3 separate regions of the Homo sapiens genome follow, and all the other regions are linked to region 2. The links are contacts of gene promoters, found by promoter capture Hi-C in human tissues and cell types (Jung and others, 2019). All regions are on one chromosome and are shown on one strand. The core of a region is centred on a gene start or on the middle of the fragment in contact, and the rest is flanking DNA. Distances in the headings are between cores, read along the strand shown. Region 1 holds the start of TIMM50 (translocase of inner mitochondrial membrane 50). Region 2 holds the start of IFNL3 (interferon lambda 3). Region 3 has its middle 23 kb from the start of ACP7.

Region 1 (3,953 bases), core at 1,430-3,929, 240 kb before region 2:
AAATGAGCCTAATGGGGTAGGGGCTCGAGGGGGATGGGGAAGGAGTTGGGAACCGCAGATGCTTGGTCTAAGGCACAGGAACCCATGTGTCTGGAGATAGGCCACCCTGTGTCCCCAAGCCCTCCCACCCAAGGCTCCAATCCCCCATCTGTCTCTGACCATCTGCTCGGGGCTGAGGGGCCAGGGAAGTGGGCTTGGGCTTTGTAATGTCCCTCCCCACAAAGCCATCCAGCTGCTGGCTCCCCCACCTCCCCAGTGGAAGGAGGAGGGGCCGGAGACACCAGATGGGGAGAGAGACATCCTTACAAATGACAGAGTTGAGAGGGTCAGGGACTCCAGAATCTGTGCTTGTTTACTCACCATTGTCGAACTCATCAGGAATCTGGGAGGTAGAGAGAAAAATGGAAGGTTTAGGATGTCAGAGGCAGAACCCCATCACATACAGAAAAGGAATCTCCAGGACCCCAAGAGGAACAGGCAAAGGTCACTGGGAAAGAAAGGCTCACTCCAGACCAGCAATGTGCCTGAACAGACCAAAGGGGACCCCTCTCACCCACAGACTAGGACTCCTGGCAAGGCCTCGGTCTCTTTCCCCCTCACCTTGGCACCATTTTCGTCCACCGGGTTGTTTCCTGCAAGGGAGACCAGGATGAATATGAGGAATTAGGGCCCAGTCCCCTGGGTCCCGAGGGAGGAGTGGGATAAGGGGCCTGGACTCCTGGATCTGAGGAAAGAGAGAGGCACAGCCTCCTGGAGTCAAGCCAGGAGGGGGCTGGGAGCCAAGATTCCTGGGTCTTTGAGAGAAATGGGGCTGGGGCTAGGTCTTTTGGGTCTGTGGGATTTTTTTTTTTTTTTTTGAGACAGAGTCTCGCTCTGTTGCCCAGGCTGGAGTGCAGTGGCACGATCTCGGCTCACTGCAAGCTCCGCCTCCCGGGTTCACGCCATTCTCCTGCCTCAGCCTCCCGAGTAGCTGAGACTACAGGCGCCCGCCACCACACCGGGCTAATTTTTTTTTGTATTTTTAGTAGAGATGGGGTTTCACCGTGTTAGCCAGGATGGTCTCCGTCTCCTGACCTCGTGATCCGCCCGCCTCGGCCTCCCAAAGTGCTGGGATTACAGGCGTGAGCCACCGTGCCCGGCCGGGTCTGTGGGATTTAAAGTAACTAGTGGGAAGGCTGGATTTTTGGCTGCTGAGGAAAGACAAAGTTTAGGAAGCTGATCCAGGCCTATCCTTCCCCATCTTCCCCTCTTTCCTTTATCCTGGTACAGGAACCAACTAGAAAGACTAGAACCTTAAGGAGTGGAAGGGAGAAGAAAGAAGACTTCCCTGGTTTTCAAGGTAGGTGTCTTATTTGGCTGCCCTATTGAGGAAGGAGCCAGGGAATGAAGACGAGAGAAGCTGGTAGTGGGCAAGAGTGGGAGGTTCCACAGTGGACCAGGGAGGCCAAGGAACAAAACTGGGGGACAGGGATATGTCCCTCACCAAAGATATAGACGACGCTCACAGTCCCACCAGCTCCAAGCAGCCCAGCAAGCCAGAGCGCAACTTTTTTGGCATAGCTGGGACCCTCTGAGCCCGGCTGCTGCTGTGGCCCTTGCGCCTTAGTGCTCCCGCGGCTCCCGATCTCTGCGGCCTGCGGTTGAGAAAGGGGAGGTCAGCCAAGAGAGAAGAGAGGTCAGGATGGTCCCCACCCTCCAGTCCAAGAAGAATCAAGTTCAGGAGCCAAGAGGCAGACACCCACAGAGCCCTGGACATCTGTGTCCCTGGAGTAGCAGTCAGGATGTGGGGCTGCTCAGAGGGTCAAAACCAGACTGTCCCGCACCAGGATGCCAGGAGTTTTAAAAGCTAACAGGCCAGGTGCACAGGATCCTGAAGGCAACAGGACTGGAGGGTCTGCAGCCCAGAAAAGCAAAGCACGGAGAATAAGGGATGGGAGGGCCTAAACACTGGGATGAGAGGGAACGGAGGGCACAAGTGGTGGGGGAAGGGGTACAGACAGAACCGGGAGTTACGACGTCCGGCTGCTTGGGGCTAAAAGTAGCAGAGTTATAGGGTAAGGGATAGGAGCGGAGGCGGGGAAGGGCAATCACTTGTCTGGGGCTTGGGGAACTAAGGCACAGAAGTGATAGACTTGGAGGTCAGAATGGCTGGGTCTCTGTCAACATGGAGGCAAGTCGAATTGGAAACCCAAACGTCTACCTCGCCACCACCAACGCCACAGAGAAAATAACTCCCACGGCCAGACTGGGACTCCAGCGTCCCAGGCCCCTCCTGCTCAAGTATCACCTGAGTGGTCACTGAAACGGGGAACGGTAACCCCCTCCTCCTCCGGCACCCACGTGGGTGGGAGGTGGGGTCTAAGGACACACCTGGATTCCCAGCCTCCAGCCTAGGGGAGCAACCACCCAGGAGGTTGGGAAGGGCCCCAAAACACAAGCGGCGTTTCATTCAGCACCCTGAGGTGAGGCGTCCCGGAACCCCCAAGGGGCGGCGATATGTCCGTAACTCCAGGGAAGGGACCCCACATTCAGAGGGCCACCCTCGTTCCGCTCACCTGATCTGGGGCCCGGCGGGGCGGCGTCGCCAACCTCGTGCACAGTCCCCGCGAGCCGAGCCGGAGCCCGCTTCGCAAGCGCGAGAACACCGCTGCCGAGGCCGCCATCTTGCGCTGACGCCACGCGGCCCCGCCCACTCGCTCCCTCTTCGCCCGCCCCGGGCCGGAGCTACAGCCAATGGAAACGCGGGGGAGGGGCGGGTGGACGGAAGCCCGAGAGAGACCAAAGGCATCGGGCGGATTGCCGCAGGCGCGTTTGCTTCTGACTAGTCTCCTGGCTGACCCTGGGGGCGACAACTGGGATTCAAAGTCATCTGGACCACGCCCCCTTGGGCCTTGCAGAGCGCCACCGCCCCTGCAAAGGACGCAGCGAAGGAAGGGATCACACTTATTGCCCAGAGATAAAGCTGAGGCCATAATGAAGGGAGTCAGTGGCTGCCTGATTTGTCCAAAAAAATAGTCACGAGTCAGGCCGCTTGTCTCACCGTGTAAGGCAATCGGCCCTCACCTCCCAATTGTCTGAAGGGATGGGTTGCCCCTCCACACCTGTGGGTGTTTCTCGTTAGGTGGAACGAGAGACTTTGGAAGAGAAAAAGACACAGAAACAAAGTATAGAGAAAGAAATAAAGGGGGCCCAGGGGACCAGCGTTCAGCATACGGAGGATCCCTCCAGCCTCTGAGTTCCCTTAGTATTTACTGATCATTCTTGGGTGTTTCTTGGAGAGGGGGATGCGTCAGGGTCATAGGATAATAGTGGAGAGAGGGTCAGCAGATAAACACGTGAACAACGGTTCATAGACAAGGTAAAGAATTAAATGCTGTACTTTAGATATGCATACATATAAACATCTCAGTGCCTTACAGAGCAGTATTGTTGCCCGCATGTTCCACCTCCAGCCCTAAGGCAGTTTTCCCCTATCTCAGTAGATGGAACATACAATCGGGTTTTATACCAAGACTTGCCCAGGGACGGGCAGGAGACAGATGCCTTCCTCTTGTCTCAACTGCGAAGAGGCGTTCCTTCCTGTTTTACTAATCCTCCTCAGCACAGACCCTTTACGGGTGTCGGGCTGGGGGACGGTCAGATCTTTCCCTTCCCATGAGGCCATATTTCAGACTATCACATGGGGAGAAACCTTGGACAATACCTGGCTTTCCTAGGCAGAGGTCCCTGCGGTCTTCCGCAGTGTTTGTGTCACTGGGTACTTGAGATTAGGGAGTGGTGATGACTCTTAAGGAGCATGCTGCCTTCAAGCATCTGTTTAACAAAGCACGTCCTGCACAGCCCTTAATCCATTTAACCCTGAGTTGACACAGCACATGTTTCAGAGAGCACGGGGTTGGTTATAGAGAACCCCGTCATCTATAACAGGGTATGGTTATAGATTAACAGCATCT
Region 2 (4,249 bases), core at 860-3,359:
CACGGAAACCTCCACGCCATTGGCTGCCGAAAGCAGCTCCTGTCGTCCATTGGGCTGGCCGGGCGAGGCTCTCAGTCAATGGGTGCTGAGGCACGAAAACTTCTTCGCAGCCTTGGGCCTGACTTGGATCCACTGTCTCAGATATAAGAGGAGCGGGTCCTTCTACAGGGAAGAGACCACAGTTCTCCAGGAAGCCACGATATTTCCTCGGGGTGCATTGTACGACCCTCCAACGGTTGCTGTGGCAGGAAAAAACTTGAGCTCTGGAAACCGTGGCTGACCCCAGGCAACAGGGACCAGTTCCTCCTTGTGTGGTTACCAGGACACCCCCAACACCAGGTCCTAACCCCGGATTTGTAGCCCCACAGCCAGCTTTGAGATTCTGTGAATCCGTGACTCTTGGATCCGGCATCTAAGGGACACCAATCCATGAGGGATTTGGTAGTGAAAGGCCCAAGGGTCCTTAACCGACTGTGGTTCTTTGGATTCCCTTACGTGTGTTTGTATTTGTGAAGTTCCTGTGCATTTGCTATTCTGTCTCCCGGTTTAAATTTATTGCCAGTTATCAAAGAGTGTTTTGATCGCATTGGTTGTTTTCCGTATGATGATTGTGAGGTGCACCTTACAGCAAAAAAAGAGGCCGAGCCAGGGACTCAGGTGGCCTGAGTTTCAGTTCTGACCCTGCCAGTTAATTACAGTGGAATTCAGGGCAAATTACTTTTCTGAGCCTCTGTTTCCTCACCTATAGGATGGGTTAGCATACTTGCCTTGTGGAGGAGTAGTGTCCGTTGAGATCACGTTTTAAACTCTCCAGCTGAGGTCCTAGTATGGTCTTAATGAGTGGATTCTATTAAATAATCACTCACATAAATACACAAACAATTGTGTTATTAATTTTTTCTCCAAATCTGTGCATTAGCAATCTGCGTTGCTGAATGCACCCCTCCTTGCCAAGGTCACACGGCTAGTGAGGGTCAGAACCAGGTTTGAACCCCAGACCCTTCATCTCCAAGACCCATGCTCTTCACCACTGCCTGAACTTCCCTAAGAAAGACGGCACCCACGTGGTGTCCTTCAAGTCCTTCGTCACACCTCAATTCTTGAGCAGAGCCTCATATTCCTGAGTCCTTCCTTGCCTGGGCAATTAAGAAATATTGGCCTCTGGGCATGGTGGCTCACACTGAAATCCCAGCAATTTGGGAGGCCTAGACAGAGAGATGACTTGACATCAGGAATTTGAGACCAGCCTTGCCAACATGGTGAAACGCCATCTCTACTAAAAATATAAAAATTAGCTGGGAATGGTGGCACAAATCTGTAATCTCAGCTACTTGGGAGGCTAAGGCAAGAGAATTGCTTGAACCCAGGAGGCGGAGGTTGCAGTTAGCCAAGATTTTGCACTGCACTCCAGCCTGGGTGACCGAACAAGACCCTGTCTCAAAATATATATATATATATATATATATATATGCCAGGAGTGGTGGCTCAGGCCTGTAATCTCAGCACTTTAATAGGCTGGGTGAGGAGGATGGCTTGAGCCCAGGAGTTTGAGGCTGCAGTGAGCTGTGATCATGCCATTGCACTGCAGTGACAGAGTGAGACCCTGTCTTAAACAACAACAAAACCAGAGCAGGTGGAATCCTCTTGGGAACATACCTTCCTGTAGGTTACCCCTGAGTCTCCATCAGTTTCTCTTTCCCTCCAGCTGCTCATCTGGCTCACTAGCCCTGCCCTGCTCTGGGCTTTCCCAGCCTGGGGCTCCCCTGGTGGCCGGTGTCTTACCTGAGGCTGTGTTTTCACTTTTCCTACATCAGCTGGGACTGCCCTTCTGTCAGGGATAAAAGCTGCCCCATGGAGCTCAGGCAGGAATTACATCCCAGACAGAGCTCAAAACTGACAGAAAGAGTCAAAGCCAGGACACAGTCTGAGATCCAGAAGAGGGGACTGAAAAGAACAGAGACTCCAGACAAGACCCAAACAGACCCTGGGTGACAGCCTCAGAGTGTTTCTTCTGCTGACAAAGACCAGAGATCAGGAATGAAACTAGGTGAGTCCCACATCTCTGTCCGTGCTCAGCTCCTGCAGCCCCTGCCCTCAGTGGGCAGCCTCTGCATTCCCTCAGCTCCCTTTCTCTCTGTGACACAGACATGACCGGGGACTGCATGCCAGTGCTGGTGCTGATGGCCGCAGTGCTGACCGTGACTGGAGCAGTTCCTGTCGCCAGGCTCCGCGGGGCTCTCCCGGATGCAAGGGGCTGCCACATAGCCCAGTTCAAGTCCCTGTCTCCACAGGAGCTGCAGGCCTTTAAGAGGGCCAAAGATGCCTTAGTGAGTCTCCCCCTGCCCTCCTGCCATGGACTAGCCTCCACCCGCACTCCAAGGGTCACCATGCTTTCCCACTCCCAGCTTCCTTCACTGGGCTAGCCTCCACCCTCCCTGCAGTGGGCTATCTCATGCTCCTACTGCAGGGACTGACTCATGTTTTCCTGAAGAAGAGGGTCCTCTACCATCCTCCCAGCAGTTAACCTCCCCTATCCTGTTGTCAGCCATCCTCCAATCCCATCAGAGTGGTCTAACCTCCACCCCTCCTGCTGGGGCTAACCTGTGCCTTTGCTGTCTAGGAAGAGTCGCTTCTGCTGAAGGACTGCAAGTGCCGCTCCCGCCTCTTCCCCAGGACCTGGGACCTGAGGCAGCTGCAGGTGAGAGGGGGAGTCAGGCCCACCCCTGCCCTCCCAGCCCTGCTCACCTGGCTCTGTAGTGGCCCCTTCACCTTCTCCTTCTCCATTGTCCCTCTCTCCTCTCCCCACACCTGCTACCCCTTCCCTCTGCTCCTACCTGACCACACTGGCTGTGCCCTCTCCCCTGTGCCTGTCACCTTCACTTGTTCCTCTCTATCCTCCTCCCCCAACCTGTTCCCCTCACCTCCCCCCTCACCTGCTCTTTCTCACCTCTCCTCAGGTGAGGGAGCGCCCCGTGGCTTTGGAGGCTGAGCTGGCCCTGACGCTGAAGGTTCTGGAGGCCACCGCTGACACTGACCCAGCCCTGGGGGATGTCTTGGACCAGCCCCTTCACACCCTGCACCATATCCTCTCCCAGCTCCGGGCCTGTGTGAGTCGTCAGGGCCCGGGCACCCAGGTCTGTGAGCTCTGAGCAGCGTCCTTCCCCTGGCCAAGGCCCCGGCTCACACACCGCCCTCCTCTGCCCACAGATCCAGCCTCAGCCCACGGCAGGGCCCAGGACCCGGGGCCGCCTCCACCATTGGCTGCACCGGCTCCAGGAGGCCCCAAAAAAGGTGAGTGACCCGGGAAGAGAGGGACTGAGGTCTGGGGAGCCACTGGGAGCCCAGAACCCAGACAGCCCCTGACCCATCCCCTCCTCCCTACAGGAGTCCCCTGGCTGCCTCGAGGCCTCTGTCACCTTCAACCTCTTCCGCCTCCTCACGCGAGACCTGAATTGTGTTGCCAGCGGGGACCTGTGTGTCTGACCCTTCCGCCAGTCATGCAACCTGAGATTTTATTTATAAATTAGCCACTTGGCTTAATTTATTGTCACCCAGTCGCTATTTATGTATTTGTGTATGTAAATCCAACTCACCTCCAGGAAAATGTTTATTTTTCTACTTTTTGAAATCCTTGTTGAAATAAACAATGAGGAAAAGACACCCATGACGTGGGACTGTGTGTGCGTTGGTGTGTATTTCCTTTGCATTGCTGCCATAACAAATTACCCTAAAAGTAGCATCTAGAACAGCAGGTTCATTGAGTCTGTGCTGTCCACTGGGGTCCCCAGGTCACATGTCACTATCGAGCACCTGGAATGTAGGTGGTGCAACCTCATTTTTTCAGTGAGTGTAAAACATACCCCAGAATTTGAAGATTTACTGTGGAGAAAAAAAAAAAAGTAAAACAGCTTAATTATAATTTATATATTCATTAGATGTTGAAATGATAGCACTTTGGATGTATTGGGTGAAATGAAGCATCTTTAAAATTAATTTAGAGCCTGGATGTGATTGCTCAAGCCTGTAATCACAGCACTTTGGGTGGCTGAGTTGGGAGGATCACTTGAGCCCAGACCAGCCTGGGCAACATAGCAAGATCCTGTCTCTATAAAAAATTAGAGAATTGGCTGGGTGTGGTGGCACAAGCCCATAATCCCAGCTACTGGTGGAAGCTGAGATGGGAGGACTGTTTGAGGTCAGGAGTTCACGACCAGCCTGAGCAACAGCAAGATCCTGTCTCTTGCGTGAT
Region 3 (4,206 bases), core at 1,493-3,992, 180 kb after region 2:
GCTGCTTGGTGACAACCGTCAGCCCTCATGTTGTCGGCTGAGTGCCCTGCTCTGTGCATTTGAAAAGCAAACCCAAGAAAGAAGAGCGAGTCTCACCCCCAGGCCAGACAAACTGGGGACCGTCGCCAGGGGGAAAAAAAATAGTGCAGGGTTTCTCTAAAACCAAGCTACCCAAACTTCAGTGGCTCACATACCACTTGAGATTTTTTTGTCCTATTCAAGGACTACTTAAACTCTTATTTACTTAATTTCTTTAAATAATGTTTAGGCTTAATTCATTTTGAAGGCAACATTGTATCACTACTATAAAGAGAAAACCAAAATCATTTAATACTTTTTCAAAGAAAATACAGGGCTGGGCGTGGTGGCTCACGACTGTAATCCCAGCACTTTGGGAGGTTGAGGCGAGTGGATCACCTGAGGTCTGGAGTTCGAGACCAGCCTGGCCAACATGGTGAAAGCCCATCTCTACTAAAAATACAAAAAATTAGCCGGCATGGTGGCGGGCGCCTGTAATCCCAGCTATTCAGGAGGCTGAGGCAGGAGAATCTCTTGAACCCAGAGGCAGAGGTTGCAGTGAGCTGAGATCGAGCTATTGCTCTCCAGCCTGGGCAACAAGAGTGAAACTCTGTCTCAAAAAAAAAAAAAAAAAAAAAAAACACCCAGGCGCCTGTACACCCAGAGCTGGGCTGGGTGTAGTGGCTCATGCCTGTAATTCCAGCATGTTGGAAGGCCAAGGCAGGAGGATTGATGGAAGCCAGGAGTTCAAGACCAGCCTGGGTAACATAGCAAGACCCCATCACTACAAAAAAAAAAAATGTTTTTTAATTAGCTGGGCACTGTGGCGTGTGCCTGTAGTCCAAGCTACTTGGGAGGCTGAGGTGGGAGGATCACTTGAGCCCAGGAGGCCGAGGCTACAGTGAGCCAAGATTGCACCACTGCACTCAAGCTTGGGTGACAGTGTGAGACCCTATCTCTAAAAAAGAAAAAAAGAAAACACAGAGCTATTCACATAACAAATGTTTTGTGTACCACCTAAATGTGTCAAATCTCACTAGCATATTCCACTCTTTGGGAAATGCTGTCCTAAGTGGAAATTAGTGACAATTTCCAGAGAGATCTCAGCATCTTTGAACAAGCAACATCTTGGAGTCACCTGTCAATCAGACCACTGGGCTCAGCTTCCCAGAGATCTGTAGCATGGGGTAGGGAAAGAGGCCTTGTTGGAGAGAATACTGGCTTAGGGGGCTCAGGAGTGGGAGACAGGCCTGAAAAAACACTAGTAAAGATAGCCCATGTTCAGAAGTCTCAGAAACCCCCCAGTGCTTTCAGGAGAACATTTCACACACACACACACACACACACACACACACACACACACACACTCCACATATGAATGCTTTGGGCTGCAAGTAACAGGAAACCCACAGAAGATGTGTAGTCTGTCCAGATGCTCACTGATGTCATTGGCATCCTGGGTTCCCGTTTCTCTGCTCTGCAATCTCTATCTAGTTTTATCTTCATCCTGAAGATAAGGTTGTAAGTGAAAGGCTGCCAACACCACTGCAACACGCTTTCTTGTTTGAGTTCAGCAGAGGCAAGGGAGAGAGAAAGACAGAATGAGAGAGAGAGAGAAGCTGTCTTTCTGCGGGACTCCCTCAAGAGAGCGGAGGGAGCTGTGGGGTGTTTGAGGGGAATTAACAGTAATGATACTGATCAACAGTCACATGCTACTTTCTGTGCTACAAGCACTGCTCTTAGCCTTCCCATGTGCCCTATTACACCAACTCTAAGGTGCTCTGTGCATAAGAGCCATCTTAGAAAGAAAAAAATAAAGCAGCCAGGTGCAGTGGCTCACACCTGCAATCCCAACACTTTGGGAGGCCGAGGCAGGTGGATCACCTGAGGCCAGGAGTTTGAGACCACCCTGACCAACATGGTGAAACCCTGTCTCTACTAAAAAGACAAAAATTAGCTGGGCATGGTGGCAGACACCTGTAATCTCAGCTACTCAGGAGACTGAGGCGGGAGGATTACTTGAACCCGGAAGGCGGAGGTTGCAGTGAGCCGAGATCGTGCCACTGCACTCTAGCCTGGGCGACAGAGGAAGACTCTATCTAAAAAAAAAATAAAAATAAAAATAAAAAAGGCCAGGCGCAGTGGCTCACGCCTGTAATCCCAACACTTTGAGAGGCGGAGGCAGGTGGATCACCTGAGGTCAGGAGTTCGAGACCAGCCTGACCAACATGGAGAAACCCCATCTTTACTAAAAATACAAAATTAGCCGGGCGTGGTGGCACATGCCTGTAATCCCAGCTACTCAGGAGGCTGAGGCAGGAAAATTGCTTGAACCCAGGAGGCAGAGGCTGCAGTGAGCCAAGATTGCGCCACTGTACTGCAGCCTGGGCAACAAGAGTGAGACTCCATCTCAAAAAAAAAAAAAAAAAAGGAAGCAAAAAAGACCACTGTTGATTAAACCACAACAGATCATCTATTTTAACACCCATCCCAATTCCGTGGATCCATGAAATACCCCATACTAGCTCATTTGGTCCTCTCCACAACCCTATGAGATAGGTAGCATTATCATCCCCATTTTATACAGGGGGAAACTGAGGTCAGAAAGACTGAGTGGCATGCTCAAAGTCCCCCCAGTGAGCCAGAGGTGGAGCCAGGATTTGAACTCGGGCAGTCTGGCAGCAGAGCCCTGACTCTTATCTGCTCTCCACACTGCCTCTCTGCTTCCAGTCTGATTTTGGAGAAGTAGACCCAGGAATCACACAGACAGCTAGAAATATCCGCCTATTGGCATATGAAAAGGGGCTCAACATCGCTGATCATTAGAGAGATGCAAATCAAAACTACAGTGAGATATATCATCTCACCCCAATTAAAGTGCCTTATATCCAAAAGACAGGCAATAACAAATGCTGGCAATGATGTGAAGAAAAGGGAACCCTCGTACATTGTTGGTGGGAATGTAAATTAGTACAACCACCGTGGAGAACAGTTTGGAGGTTCCTCAAAAAACTAAAAATTGAGGCTGGGCGCAGTGGCGCACACCTGTAATCCCAACACTTTGGGAGGCCAAAGCAGGTGGATCCCTTGAGGTCAGGAGTTCAAGACCAGCCTGGCCAATGTGGTGAAACCCCGTCTCTACTAAAAATACAAAAATTAGCCAGGCGTCATGGTGCATGCCTGTCATCCCAGCTACTCAGGAGGCTGAGGCAGAAGAATCAGTTGAACCTGGGAGGCAGAGGTTGCAGTGAGCAAGATCACACCACTGCACTTGAGCCTGAGGGACAGAGCTAGACTCTGTCTCAAAAAAAAAAAAAAAAACAAAACACCTAAAAATTTGAGCTACCATATGATCCAGCAATCCCACTGCTGGGTATATACCCCATAGAATGGAAATCAGTGTATCTGTTAAGGAAATATCTACACTGACATGTGTATTGCAGCACTGCTCACAGTAGCCAAAATTTGGAAGCAACCTAAGTGTCCATCAGCAGATGAATGGATAAGGAAAATGTACATATGCACAGTGGAGTACTATTTAGCCATAAAAAAGAATGAGATCTAGTCATTTGTAACAACATGAATGGAACTGGAGACCATTATGTTAAGTGAAATAAACCAGGTTCAGAAAGACAAACATCACATGTTCTCACTTATTTGTGGGAGTTAAAAATCAAAACAATTGAACTCATGGACATAGAGAGGCTGGGAAGGATAGTGGAGGTTGGGGGGAGGAGAGGATGGTTAGTGGGTATAAAAAAATAGAAATAATGAATAAGACCTACTATTTGATCACACAACAGGGCGCCTATAGTCAATAATAACTCGCCTATTTAAAGATAACTGAAAGAGTATAATTGGATTGTTTGTAACACAAAGGATAAATGCTTGAGGGGATGGATGCCCCATTCTCCAGGATGTGATTATTATACATTCCATGCTTGTATCAAAACATTTCATTTACCCCATAAATAAGTACACCTACAAAAATTAAAAATTAAAAAAATATATATCAGCCTGTTGGTAAAGGCTTAGCTGGGTGGCCGCAGCGGGCTTCCCAACACCCCCAAATTGAACTTACCATCTAAAATGGAGGCTCCTTGGCCAGGTGCAGTGGCTCATGCCTGTAATCCCAACACTTTGGGAGGCCACGATGGGCCGATCACCTGAGGCCAGGAGTTCAAGACC

The links. Contacts are between HindIII fragments. The study calls those that stand out against the background at their distance.
Region 1: the fragment with the promoter of TIMM50 here is called in contact with the fragment with the promoter of IFNL3 in region 2 in 1 of the 25 tissues and cell types used here (spleen).
Region 3: a fragment that was not itself captured here is called in contact with the fragment with the promoter of IFNL3 in region 2 in 2 of the 25 tissues and cell types used here (liver and mesendoderm cells).

The regions. Positions count from the first base shown.
Region 1 is chr19:39,479,564-39,483,516 of GRCh38, reverse strand. It overlaps TIMM50 (translocase of inner mitochondrial membrane 50), which reads right to left and starts at 2,679. Exons shown (of 11, transcript NM_001001563.5): 1 at 2,556-2,679; 2 at 1,484-1,634; 3 at 601-632; 4 at 361-382. The coding sequence starts at 2,663. LOC124904718 (a long non-coding RNA gene) reads right to left here and starts at 353. Exons shown (of 2, transcript XR_007067257.1): 1 at 1-353. RefSeq lists enhancers at 2,227-2,276, 2,397-2,991. The HindIII fragment of the contact is 21,512 bases long and covers 1-3,953 here.
Region 2 is chr19:39,242,866-39,247,114 of GRCh38, reverse strand. It overlaps IFNL3 (interferon lambda 3), which reads left to right and starts at 2,109. Exons shown (of 5, transcript NM_172139.4): 1 at 2,109-2,327; 2 at 2,621-2,698; 3 at 2,958-3,107; 4 at 3,208-3,291; 5 at 3,385-3,562. The coding sequence starts at 2,148. The coding sequence ends at 3,483. It also overlaps the pseudogene IFNL4. The HindIII fragment of the contact is 34,684 bases long and covers 1-4,249 here.
Region 3 is chr19:39,058,876-39,063,081 of GRCh38, reverse strand. No RefSeq gene overlaps it. Among named protein-coding and RNA genes, the nearest start is that of ACP7, 23 kb to the left of the region's middle. RefSeq lists an enhancer at 4,076-4,206. The HindIII fragment of the contact is 6,146 bases long and covers 1-4,206 here.